Linked DNA regions of Homo sapiens: region 1 is linked to region 2. The links are contacts of gene promoters, found by promoter capture Hi-C in blood cells and fetal thymus (Javierre and others, 2016). All regions are on one chromosome and are shown on one strand. Each heading gives the region's core, a stretch centred on a gene start or on the middle of the fragment in contact. The rest is flanking DNA. Distances are from core to core; before and after follow the strand shown. Region 1 overlaps ERN1 (endoplasmic reticulum to nucleus signaling 1). Region 2 holds the start of SCN4A (sodium voltage-gated channel alpha subunit 4).

Region 1 (6,330 bases), core at 3,705-6,204, 100 kb before region 2:
CACCACCATCTGCCCCTGGAATCAGGAGCTTCCTCTTGCTTTGTGCCCAGGAAAATCTAGGGAGGGAAGAATTCTGCCATTAATTGCTGCAAATGTAAAATTGACTTAGAGAAAAAAACGTGTTCTCAATTTAAAAAGTAATGCCTGCTCTTGCAGAAATTTTAAGATATAGAAAAGGTTGGGGGGAGTTGCATTTCCAACAAGGATAACTTACAATTAGCATTTTTGATCTTTCCATCTAATTAGGTACATTGAAGCCTTTCCCCATAGTTGCATTAATACTCTATGTACAATGTTATCTTTTCTCCTGAACATAATAGCATAGGTTTGTATATGTCTTAAAATTTTATTAGCCCTCTTAGAAGCCTTAATTTTTTGCCAAGTGGACATTCTATAACTTAACCATATTATTGGGTAGGTCATTTGTAATGCTGCTACGTACACATCTTTGTACAAAAACCATTTTCTATAGTTTATATTGTCTTTAAATTAGATTTTATAAAAATGCAATGGGGGGGCCAAAGGGAATGAACACTTGGAGGCTCTAGAATTGCCGCTCCAAAGAGGTGTGTCCATTTACTGGCCAATCAAAGTTAGTTCTTAAACCCATTTTACTTTTCCTAATGGGAATATGTAGAGCTACTCCAGGCATCGGACAAGGTAATGATTAAGGTTTTAGAAGTCTTTGAGGTGTCAGATAGTGATGCTCTGACCCCTTGTCCACGGTGTGTGGTGACTGGTTCTTCGTTCTGCATCCATCCCCCAAGTTATATGCAAGTTTCTTGAAAGCAGTTCTGTTCTGGTCTCAGTTCTCTATCCAGCCTCAGTAACTATCCAAGAGCTTACATTTGCATCATTGTGGATATGTTTTCTAAAAGATATGCACGGTGATACAAAAATGCATATAACCTTCACGTGCACTAGCCCATGTAGGTTAACAGGAGGGAGAAAGTTATTACCGGTACAACTTGGCCTGGTCCTGGGAAGCCTCTGGGAATCTTGACATTTTGGGATGTTTCTGATGATGGCTTTGTTGTTCTTTTGCACAGATCCAGTCCTGCAGGTCCCAACACATGTGGAAGAGTAAGTTTTCTGATTCGCTCAGTACTTCCCTTTAATTCAGTCTTCTTCATTCAATCAGTGTTTATGAGGCCAGTTGCTGGGAGTGCATATATGTGTAAGTTTGAGGAATAACAGTGAGTGACATATAAAGTCTTACAGGTGCTATGATGAAAGCTTGTGTTGAGGAGGAGGTGGTCAGTTTCCTGAGGGAGAAGGGTAGTGGTTTTAAAAAGGCTTATTTGAGATGAAACTCAAGTTGAGCTTTGAACTTAAACTTCCAAAGTCCTCAGGGGGACTGGACCTCTTCCTCTTTGCTGTGTCATATCATGGAGAAAAAAGGTGAATGTGACCTGCTACTACAGAGTGTGTGTTGGGGTAAAAGCTGGATAGCACTGGTAAGAGCCTTAAATGATGGCACAACCTAAGGAACGATTCAGCCAAGGGTTTCTGAGGGACTGTAGTTATAGTTTAGTCTTTAGCAGATTAACTTGACAAAAGACCACTTCACATCTGCTTCAAGGGAAGCTACTGACGGAGGGACCTTGATCTGTCCCCTTGGCGGGTTCTCTCTGATGTCAAGCTGTTAGAGTCTGCTTTTATTGCCTCCAGTTAAACAAAAAATATCTCTTGAAAACTAAAAGCAGATTTGTTCTACCTGTTTATGTACCATGCCATCCTATCAAATATTAATGGCTGGAGTTCTATATACAATTGATGTAGAAATTGAAAAGTGGACTTACTGGGTCCTTTTCACATATTTTGCCTTCATCCAGAGTGCTTTGACCAAATGATAATTTGTCTTCTATGGTTTTGTATGATTTTTCCTTTCAGGCCGCTTTTCTCCACTCAAGGATAGTGTATACCACCATAGGGGTATTTTATTTATCTGTGGTTGAAGTGAGAGAGAGTAGTGGGTGGAATTGTCTTATATACTCACTTATACACCTACACACAACCACCCTCCACTCTCTATTCCTCCATCATGGGTTTGCGTGGCTTTGGTATGTTGTTCCATGCCCTGGGCTGTAATTTATCTTTGATATTTATTATTTAATCTCTAGGCCTGCCTTTCTCCCAGATCCTAATGATGGCAGCCTGTATACGCTTGGAAGCAAGAATAATGAAGGCCTGACGGTGAGTATATTTAGCTGCTTTTTGTACTCCAGGGGTTCTAGACCAGCGGTCCTTAAGTGTGTCTGCACAGTGTCTTACTGTGTCTCCCACCTGGAGCTTTTAAAAACAACCCCTGGGGATTCTGATTCAGGTGGTCTAGAGAGGAGCCTGGGCATCAGTCTTTTCAGAGAGCTTCCTAAATGAGCTTTTAAATGTGGTGCCAGAGTTCAGAAACACGGATGCAGACCAGCAGGTTCTCATGGCCCAGCCCATACACTGGAGGATATAATGTTAAGAACAGGGTTTGCTCTAACTGGTGACCCTCACCTTAGGAGGGAGGGATATAGTTTGAAATGCTGTCTCCACCTGCCCCACCTTCCGATGACTCCTTAAGGGAGTCATGTGATATTCTACCCTCATTTCCATTTGAGAATCTAAACCAGTGGTTTTCAGCCTTAATTATACATTGTAATAACCTGGAATTCGAAAAAACAGCATTAGGACCTAGAACATAGGGCCCAATCCCAGAAGGTCCCGATTTAATTGATCTAAGTCATCAGGACTTTTTAAAAGCTCCCCAGATAAGAGAATTTAGAAACAGGCCCACACATATGGTCATCTGATATGTGACAAAGGTGACACTGCAGTGTCCTGTCTTGTCTTTTCTCTTTTCTTTTGAGACAGGGTCTCACTTTGTCACCCAGGTTGGAATGCAGTGGCACAATCTTGGCTCACTACAACCTCCGTCTCACAGGCTCAAGCCAGCCTCCCACCTCAGCCTCCTGAGTAGCTGGGACCACAGGTGTACATCTCCACGCCCAGCTAATTTTTTGTATTTTTGGTAGAAATGGGGTTTCATCATATTGCCTAGGCTGGTCTCCAACTTCTGGGCTCAAGCGATCCACCCACCTCAGCCTCCCAAAGTGCTGGGATTACAGACGTGAGCCACCACCACCCAGCTTACAGTGTTTTTGCAATAAGTGGTGTAGGTCAATTGGGATATCCATATAGGAATAAAAGTATTGACTCCTACCCCCCTACAACACATATAAAATCAGTTCCAGATAGATCACACATCTAAATGTGAAATGCAAAATAATAAAGCTTTAAGAAAAAAAGTAATGGAACCATCTTCATGATCTTAGAGTAAGTAGAGATTTATTAAGTAGGATATTAAAGAACACTATAAATTTAGGAAAAAATCAATATATTGATTATATTAAAATTAAGAACTTTTCCTCATTAAGAGGCCACAAAGTATTTGTAGTATACACATCCAACAAAAGTTCATATTCAGAATATATGAAGAAATCCTATGGTACGTTAAAAAAAGACAGCCCAATGGAAGAATAACAGAAGAGAATATCCAAATGGTCATAAACATATGAAAAGATGTTCCATTTTATTAGTCATTTGGAAATGCAAATTAAAGCCACAGTGCCATACTGCTACTCACCAGAATGGCCAAAACAAGGAAAGTAGAAAAAGAAAACATGTTGGTGATGTGGAGCAACCAGGACTCTCACCTACTGCTGGCGGAAGTGCAGGGTGGCACAAGTGATTTGGAAAACTGTTGGCAGTAAGTGCTAAAGTCCTTAGGACCCAGTAATGCCCTCCTAGGTTACAGACCCAACAGAAATGCACATTTGTGGCTGGGTGCGGTGGCTCATGCCTGTAATCCCAGCACTTTGGGAGGCCAAGGTGGGCGGATCACGAGGTCAGGAGATCGAGACCATGGTGAAACCCCGTCTCTACTAAAAATACAAAAAATTAGCCAGGTGCGGTGGCGGGCGCCTATAGTCCCAGCTACTTGGGAGGCTGAGGCAGGAAAATGGCGTGAACCCGGGAGGTGGAGCTTGCAGTGAGCTGAGATCACGCCACTACACTCCAGCCTGGGCAACAGAGCGAGACTCCATCTCAAAAAAAAAAAAAAGAAGAAATGCACTTTTGTTCACCAATGGACATGTGCCCAAATGTACAGCAGCACCATTTATAATAAGCAGAGGGTGGCCAAATAACATCCACAGTGGAGTGGAAAAATAAACTCTGGAAGCGGCATGCACGGTGATGAGGACCAACAGTCTATGACGACACACGCCGCGGATGACTCACAAGCGTGATGTTGAGCAAAACATGACAGACAAAAAAGGCCACACGCTGCCATTCACTTATGTAAAGCCAAAAACAGGAAAAACGAGTCTCTGCTGTTTTGAAGTTAGGATAATAGTTACCCCTGGAGAGTTATGGCTAGAAAGGGGGGCAAGAGAGGAGGGGGGCTTCTGTTTCTTCACCTGGATGCCGGTTACGTGGGTATGTTCACTTTGTGAAACTTGACTGAGCTGTGTGATGATGAGTGCTTTTCTGTTTGCGTATTATGCATCAGTAGGAAGTTTTTAAAGCTTCCAAGTAATTCTCATGGGCAACCAAGGATGAGAACCACTGATCTAGGCTGTAAGTGGATTGTGGACTTTAACTTGGGTGTTTTAAAATTATTTTGTGAATGCCTGTGACCAAAACAGAGGGGAGGAGGGCAAGTTTGTATAGAGCTGTGTGTATTTCACCTTCAACACTGCTCTCCGTTGGTTTCTCTCCACAGCTCTGTAGTCCCCATTTCTTAAGCAATTTGTTTGCCAGAAACTGGGGTGAGTGAGTTGTATAAGTTATCTCATTGGAATCTCTCAGCAGCCCTGTGGGTGATATCCCCGTTTTAGAGGTGTGGAAACAGCCTGGAGAAGTGAAGGAATATGTCCAGGGCTGAGTCTTCTAGTGTTGGAGTTGGTTCTTAAAGAGGATGCCCAGCCGGGCCTGTAATCCCAGCACTTTGGGAGGCCGAGGCGGGCGGATCACAAGGTCAGGAGATCGAGACCATCCTGGCTAACACGGTGAAACCCCGTCTCTACTAAAAAATACAAAAAATTAGCCAGGCGCAGTGGCGGGCGCCTGTAGTCCCAGCTACTTGGGAGGCTGAGGCAGGAGAATGGCATCAACCCGGGAGGCGGAGCTTGCAGTGAGCCGAGATCACGCCACTGCACTTCAGCCTGGGTGAGAGTGAGACTCCGTCTCAAAAAAAAAAAAAAAGAGGATGCCCTTCATCACTCCCTTGTGCTCCTTTCTGGGTTGTGGTTTAGCAGCTCCAGAAACAATGTTTCCCAAGCTTGGGCCTTGAATCAGGGCACCAGTGGCAGTGCTCAGCAGAGACCACAGGACTCCAGAAGACTAGAAGATCTGCAGTGCCTTTCTGATTCTCAGAAACACATGGCAAAACCCAGTCATTGCAGCCTCTCTGAAGCATTTTTCCTCCTCTGAGGCTTGGTTTGAATGTTGGGATGATGGGAAAATCCAAGTTATTTAGTATGCAAAGCTCTGCTTATTAAAGCTAGAGAGAAATCTTTTCTTTCTTGGAGAAAAAGGTGACCATGCAGTAGAGGCATTTCTATAAAAGCAGGTATCTATAGAACAATTTCAAAAACACAGAATGTTCTAAAAATAAAGTATACTGAAACAAGCATTAACCAAAAGAGCTCGTCAGATGTCAGCTGTAGACTCAGAAGAATCAGTTTTATGATGAAATGCAGTTGAAACATTTGGATTCCTTTGAGTTTCTTTTCCTGGCACCTATCTTAACTTCCTCTTTAAAACCAAAAGTCTCAATTTTTCTTGTTTTTCAATAGTGAATTATTTACTGAAGAAAACATCAAAACTCTTTTCCACCTCAAACTCTTGTGTTGCCCCTGTAATGGCGACTTCTCCTTTCCCTCGAAGCTTGAGCTTGGCACCAAGGTTGCATCCCTTCAGCATCAATGTCCTGGCTCCCTCCCATGGGGCTCTACAAAGCACTGTCATTTTACTCAGTCTAGCCAGCTCTGGCTCTGTATTCCAAGCCAGGACAATTCTTTCTTAGCATTTCAAAGAATATATAACTCTCCATATTTGTGTAAATCTTTTCAGAAAAGGTTTGTGTCACCCCTGGGAAGCACCCTGGACAGGAGACCTTGAGGGGCCTCTGCACATGGTGTCAAGTAAAGGAGTGGATGTTTACAGAGCTCAGGGACCTGGGAGCTTGTCAAAATAGATGTGGAAAATTAGCTGGGTGTAGTGGCAACATGCCTGTAATCCCAGCTACTTGGGAGGCTGAGGTGAGAGAATCACTTGAAC
Region 2 (5,567 bases), core at 2,931-5,430:
AAGTGATACGGAGCAGCCAGGGATGTGGAAGGGAAACAGCAAGCAGCTTCCATGGAGGCTGTGAGAATCAGGTGCTTCCAGAAAGGGGCTGTGGCCAACTGGGCTGCATGCTTCTGAGAGGCTCTGGGAGCTGAGGACAGAAGCGTGTTCACTGGACTTGGCAGCAGGGAGGGTGTTAGTGACTTGACAAAAGTAGTTTCAGTTGAAGGGGAAACGGAAGCCAGGTTGGAATGGATTGGAGAGAGAATGAAAGGTAAGGAAGTCAAGACAGCTGGTGTAGACACTTTCCAAGAAGTTTTACTGTGAAGAGGAAAGAAAAATAGGGCAATAGATGCAGGGAGGTGTGGGGCCAGGAGAATAGTTTTGTCACCACTGCCATTGTTTTTAAAGTGGGGGACACTAGAGTCTGTTCACAGATGGGGAGAGGTGGATGGGCAGTAGAGAGAGGGCACCTGGAGAGGTCTTTGAGAAGCAAGAGGGGCTGGGGTCCTGAGCCCCAGGAAAGCCTGACCCTTGCTTCTTATTATTATTCTAACAGGATAGAGGAAGACGGGGTGGGATGGGGAGATGGTTCTGTGGATTTGACAGTGTGTGTGTAGTGGTTCTTCCTTCCTCAGGGAAGACCATCAGCTGGGAGGCTCATGGGGAGGAGCGCGGAGGTCTGAGGAAAGAGGAGAAGGCATGAAATAGTTGTTTTCAAAAAGTGGAAAAGTGAGCCTACCAGAAAAATCCACACTACAGGGCTGGCAGGATTGAGGACAAACCCAGAATATGTGACCATGAATTTACGGTGAGCTCAGCCTAGTCATACCATTTCCCCAGCCACATTTCTCCAGCTCGGGGCTGACTTTGGAAAACCAGAGCTGGGGACATGCAGTTAGGGGTTCCCCAGGACTGTGTGATAGAAGGAGAGAGATCCCTCCTTCTGGGATCTCTCCCTGGGAGCTGTGGAGGAGGGACCAGAATGATGATCTTCTAAGTAAGCCTAGATGAGGAGGGACATGAAGTCAGAAGCAGGTGGAAAGGGAGAAAGTGCAGGGTCAAAGAACTGAAAGTGCCCAAAGATTATAGCAACCGGGCCCCTGAGCCAGGAGCTGAGAAGGTGGCAGGGGCAAAGGAAGAGTTTGAAGTGGTGATTTCAGAGGAGATATGGTTTCTGGTTATGATTTAGGTTCAGGGTATGCTTAAAGGAGAAAAGAGCTAAGGTAGAGTGTCCCTGTGATTCACTCACTTATTCATTTGATAAACTTTTATTGAGCTGGTGACACAAACAAGGGGAGAGTTCCACCCAGCCAGGGTACCCAGGGAGGGCTTCCTGGAGGAGGTGGTTCTTGTGTGGGTTGAGTCTAGAAAGATGAATGGAAGCTCTCCAGGGAGACAAAGAAGATGGGTGCTCTGGGAGGAGAGCAAACCACAAGCAAAGGCATGGGGGTTAGGGCAGGGGGGTGGAAAACAGCTTGGCCCATTTGTGAAAATGGAGGTAGCATGGCCAGAGGATGCGGGAAGGGTAGGCAATGAGGCAGGGATCTGATCATGGAGGGCCTTGGGAGCCCTGGGTAGGGCTTAGGACGTACTCCTAAGCAGTGGAAAGCCATTGAAGATTTAAGCAGGGGGTGAAATTTGTGACTTTACAAATATTTATGGCAGTCTAGGGGAGAGCCTGGTGGGAGGTGTTTCTTTGGTTGGTTTTTGAGACAGGGTCTCACTCTGTCACCCAGGCTGGAGGACAGTGGCACCATCATGGCTCACTGCAGCCTCGAACTCCTGAGCTTAAGGGATCCTCCTGCCTTCGTAGCTGGGACTACAGGAGCATGTCACCACGCGGGGAGGTTATTTGAACAGAACAGGTGAGGGGTGGAGGGTGGAGAGGGCAGTGACACTGGAGAGGGAGCATCAGTAGGGTGTGGAACTGGCCAGATCTACCACCATGATGCTTCGGGCAGCCACCAACCAAAGCCAGCTTCAGCAAGTGGAACCAGTGAGGACATTCCTCCCCTCACATTACAAAACAGCCAGACCTCAGGGGTAATGGAGGAGTAGGAGAAGAGGAAATTAGGAGGAAGTGAACATTTTGAAGGGAGAGGTGTACGCTGTGCAAAGAAAACAGGCTGCAGAGCAGGCCCCAGAGAAGAAGCATCTTCCAGGGGCAGGGAAGGGGCAGGTCCCAGAGCAGAGCTGGGGAGAGTGGCCGGACGCACAGGTGATGTCCTGCTCCCAAGAAGAAAGGCGGTGTGCGGTGTGGGAAGCTCAGGAGGGCCAGCGGGGAAGAAAACACTGGATCTGTCCCCTGGGGAGCTCTGGTGACTCAGGTGAGAGTCATTTCCTCGAGTGCTGGGGTTGGGAGCCAGACTATGTGTCTGTGGGCTTTTGTGGCCCTACTTGGGCTCGTGTAATGAAAAGAGTGAGCAGTATCAGGACAGGAGGATCATCACAGCAGGGACTGCAGACTGGGTGGGTGCACAGCAGCCCTGGGGTCTCTTCAAGGCCATCTGGCTGGTTGGCGCCTTCTGTGTAGTGACAAGCAGCATGTGGGGGTGTACGTGGAGTGGGTGATGGGGAGGAAGGTGGCAAGGTATATGACAGAGCTGTGAGATGCAACTGGGAAGGTCTGCATGTGGGGTGGCTCCAGGCCGGGTGTGCGTGCATGTGCCTGTGTGTGCAAGTGTGTGCACATGCACGCCCACGCTCACGACAGGGGCCAGTGAGCAGCTGAGGGCAGGGTTGGCAGGAATAAGCAGAGTCATCCCCGTGGAAACACGACTCCCTGGGTGCTGTAAGGAGCAGCTGGGAGCCAGGCACAAGGGCGTGGCCAGCTCTGCCCAGTGGCTCTGGCCTCTCCCTGGCCACCCTCCCCACCTGTTGAGCAAGCCTGAGAAGCGCCCGTGCTGACCAGGGCAGGGGCGCTGCTGCAAGGGTCAAGGCCCACTGGGAGAGGTCCACCCTCAGGTGTGGCTTTGGGGGTCTCTAGGGGTCTGTCCAGGTCCCTGTGGTGCAGGGGTGGCTCCAGGTCTGTCCATGTGGGTCTGGCAGTGGCTGCCTGCAGCTGGTCTGCAGGGGTCTCACTGCAACTGCCTGCTGATGTGGTCATTCCCCCAGGGCCATTTGCAATAAGTGATCCCCCTTCCCTTCCACAGGAATAGGCTCTGGAGGGCTGGGCAGAAGGGGAGAGGGGCCAGGTGGGGCCCAGACCACACAATGCTCACAGGCATCAAAGGCTCCTTGTGGATGCCCCTTCCCCCAATCCAGCTTGTGCTGGGACCACCAGCCAAAAGCAGTCCCCAGGAGCTCTAGCCCTGCCCCCACCATTGGAGTTGTCCATCTCCTTGTCCCTGTGACCTTCCCTGTACGTCTTCTCTTCCACGTTAGCACCTGCAGCTCTCCAGATGCAATGTTCCTCTCCCAGTTCACCCTGCCTGCCCAGTGGGCTAGAGCCCCCAGGGCTGTGGGAGGGAACTGCTAGGAGACCCCTGCCGGGCCCAGGGCCCTTTCTTCTTCCCTCTCCCAGCCCAACACCAAGTACCCCAAAGATCAGGAAAGAGGAATCCACACCCACCCCCATCTTTCTTTTCCCTTCCCTCCAGGCCAGGGATGGCAAACACAGGCAGAGGCACCACGGTCTTCCTCCTTGCGCCCCTGGCAGACATCACTAATCAATCACAGCAACCTTTTTGCACAGAGCCTGGCTGCCACCTTCATGGTCTCCACCTACATCTCCAGGTGGCCAATATCAGGATCCACGTCGGCCCTCAGGGTGAAGTCCCTGTGCCAGTCCCACTTTGATCTAACCCCCCAACCAGGCCCCTCATCCTGGCCTATCCAGAGGTCGCCTGAGCACAGCCAGCTGTGGTTCTCTCTCTGTCCCATTAGGCTGAAGCCACACAGTTCCCGGAGCTTGGGCCCAGGAGGCAGTCGAAGGCACTGGGGTGTTGACCCCAAGTCCCAAGGCCACAAAGAATCTGGTTGGTTTGCCGTCGGTCCTGAGGGCAGCCGCTGCCACTTCTGGGGAAAGTGTGGTGGGGGGGCCAGGGGTGATGCTCTGTGCCCAGCACCTGTGCAGCAGCAGCACCTTGCAGGCACATCTCCCAGTCCTGATAGAGTCTGCACGCCCACCTCCCCGGCTCGGCCACTGGGCAAGCAGGAGGTGAGGAGTGGACGGCCCGCCCAGGGAGGGGCGGCCGCCCAGCACCCCGGGGCTGCGCACTGCAGCTCCCCAGGCCACCCACCACCCTTCTGGTCTCTGAGCCCAGGATGCGAGGATGGCCAGACCATCTCTGTGCACCCTGGTGCCTCTGGGCCCTGAGTGCTTGCGCCCCTTCACCCGGGAGTCACTGGCAGCCATAGAACAGCGGGCGGTGGAGGAGGAGGCCCGGCTGCAGCGGAATAAGCAGATGGAGATTGAGGAGCCCGAACGGAAGCCACGAAGTGACTTGGAGGCTGGCAAGAACCTACCCATGATCTACGGAGACCCCCCGCCGGAGGTCATCGGCATCCCCCTGGAGGACCTGGATCCCTACTACAGCAATAAGAAGGTCTGGGCCTGGGAAGGCTTCCTCTGTCTGTCTGCCATCCATCCATCTGTCTGCCTGTCTGTCTGTCCCTGGGTCTCACAGCCTCTCTCCCACCTTAGACCTTCATCGTACTCAACAAGGGCAAGGCCATCTTCCGCTTCTCCGCCACACCTGCTCTCTACCTGCTGAGCCCCTTCAGCGTAGTCAGGCGCGGGGCCATCAAGGTGCTCATCCATGCATATCCTGCCCAAGATGGGAGAGGCGGGAGGGGTTAGGGATGGGCGAGATGGGGTGCTGTGGCCCAGGAGACCCTCTATCACCTCCCATCCTAGCTGCTTCCTCACTTTCCTTGACCCTGCCCCACGCTGTTCAGCATGTTCATCATGATCACCATCTTGACCAACTGCGTATTCATGACCATGAGTGACCCGCCTCCCTGGTCCAAGAATGTGGAGTAAGTCTCCCTGCTCCCTGAGCTCCCCAGCCCTGGGACACAGCCCATCTCAGGTGTTTGCACCTCTGTGTGGTGCTGCTCTTGTCTTTCAGGGAGACACACTGTCATTGTGACCCTCATCCACACCTTGAGTCCCTGGGGTGGCCATGCTATCACTCGCTAGTGTCCTTAGCCACCTGAGTGGCATATTTCATTTCTGTGTCCCTCCCTTCTGGGGGTCTGTCGTTGCCACACTGACCCCTACCCAGGTGACATGCCTGTCCCGGCCGGCCCTCTCCCCCCCAGGTACACCTTCACAGGGATCTACACCTTTGAGTCCCTCATCAAGATACTGGCCCGAGGCTTCTGTGTCGACGACTTCACATTCCTCCGGGACCCCTGGAACTGGCTGGACTTCAGTGTCATCATGATGGCGTGAGCAGGGGCCCCAGGACATCCTGAGGCTGGGGTGGGTGAGGGGAGGGGGCCAGGCCTTAAAGAGGGAAGCTGCCTGGGCTGAGGGCTGCAGGGGACATCGGTCAGTTGTGCAGATGGGGAGCTGCACAATTCTAGAAGCTGCCATTCTCAGGGTCTGGCTCAGCACTCTCCTGATGGACTCCTGATAA

What was found. Contacts are between HindIII fragments. The CHiCAGO score rates a contact against its expected background, and 5 or more counts as called.
Region 1: a contact is called between a fragment that was not itself captured here and the fragment with the promoter of SCN4A in region 2, in 1 of 17 cell types (total B cells). The highest score is 5.0, in total B cells.

What each region holds. Positions count from the first base shown.
Region 1 is chr17:64,075,528-64,081,857 of GRCh38, reverse strand. ERN1 (endoplasmic reticulum to nucleus signaling 1) reads left to right here. Exons shown (of 22, transcript NM_001433.5): 3 at 1,050-1,083; 4 at 2,124-2,196. Among named protein-coding and RNA genes, the nearest start is that of ERN1, 51 kb to the left of the region's middle. The HindIII fragment of the contact is 755 bases long and covers 4,577-5,331 here.
Region 2 is chr17:63,971,531-63,977,097 of GRCh38, reverse strand. It overlaps SCN4A (sodium voltage-gated channel alpha subunit 4), which reads left to right and starts at 4,180. Exons shown (of 24, transcript NM_000334.4): 1 at 4,180-4,529; 2 at 4,628-4,746; 3 at 4,873-4,962; 4 at 5,248-5,376. The coding sequence starts at 4,257. The HindIII fragment of the contact is 13,365 bases long and covers 1-5,567 here.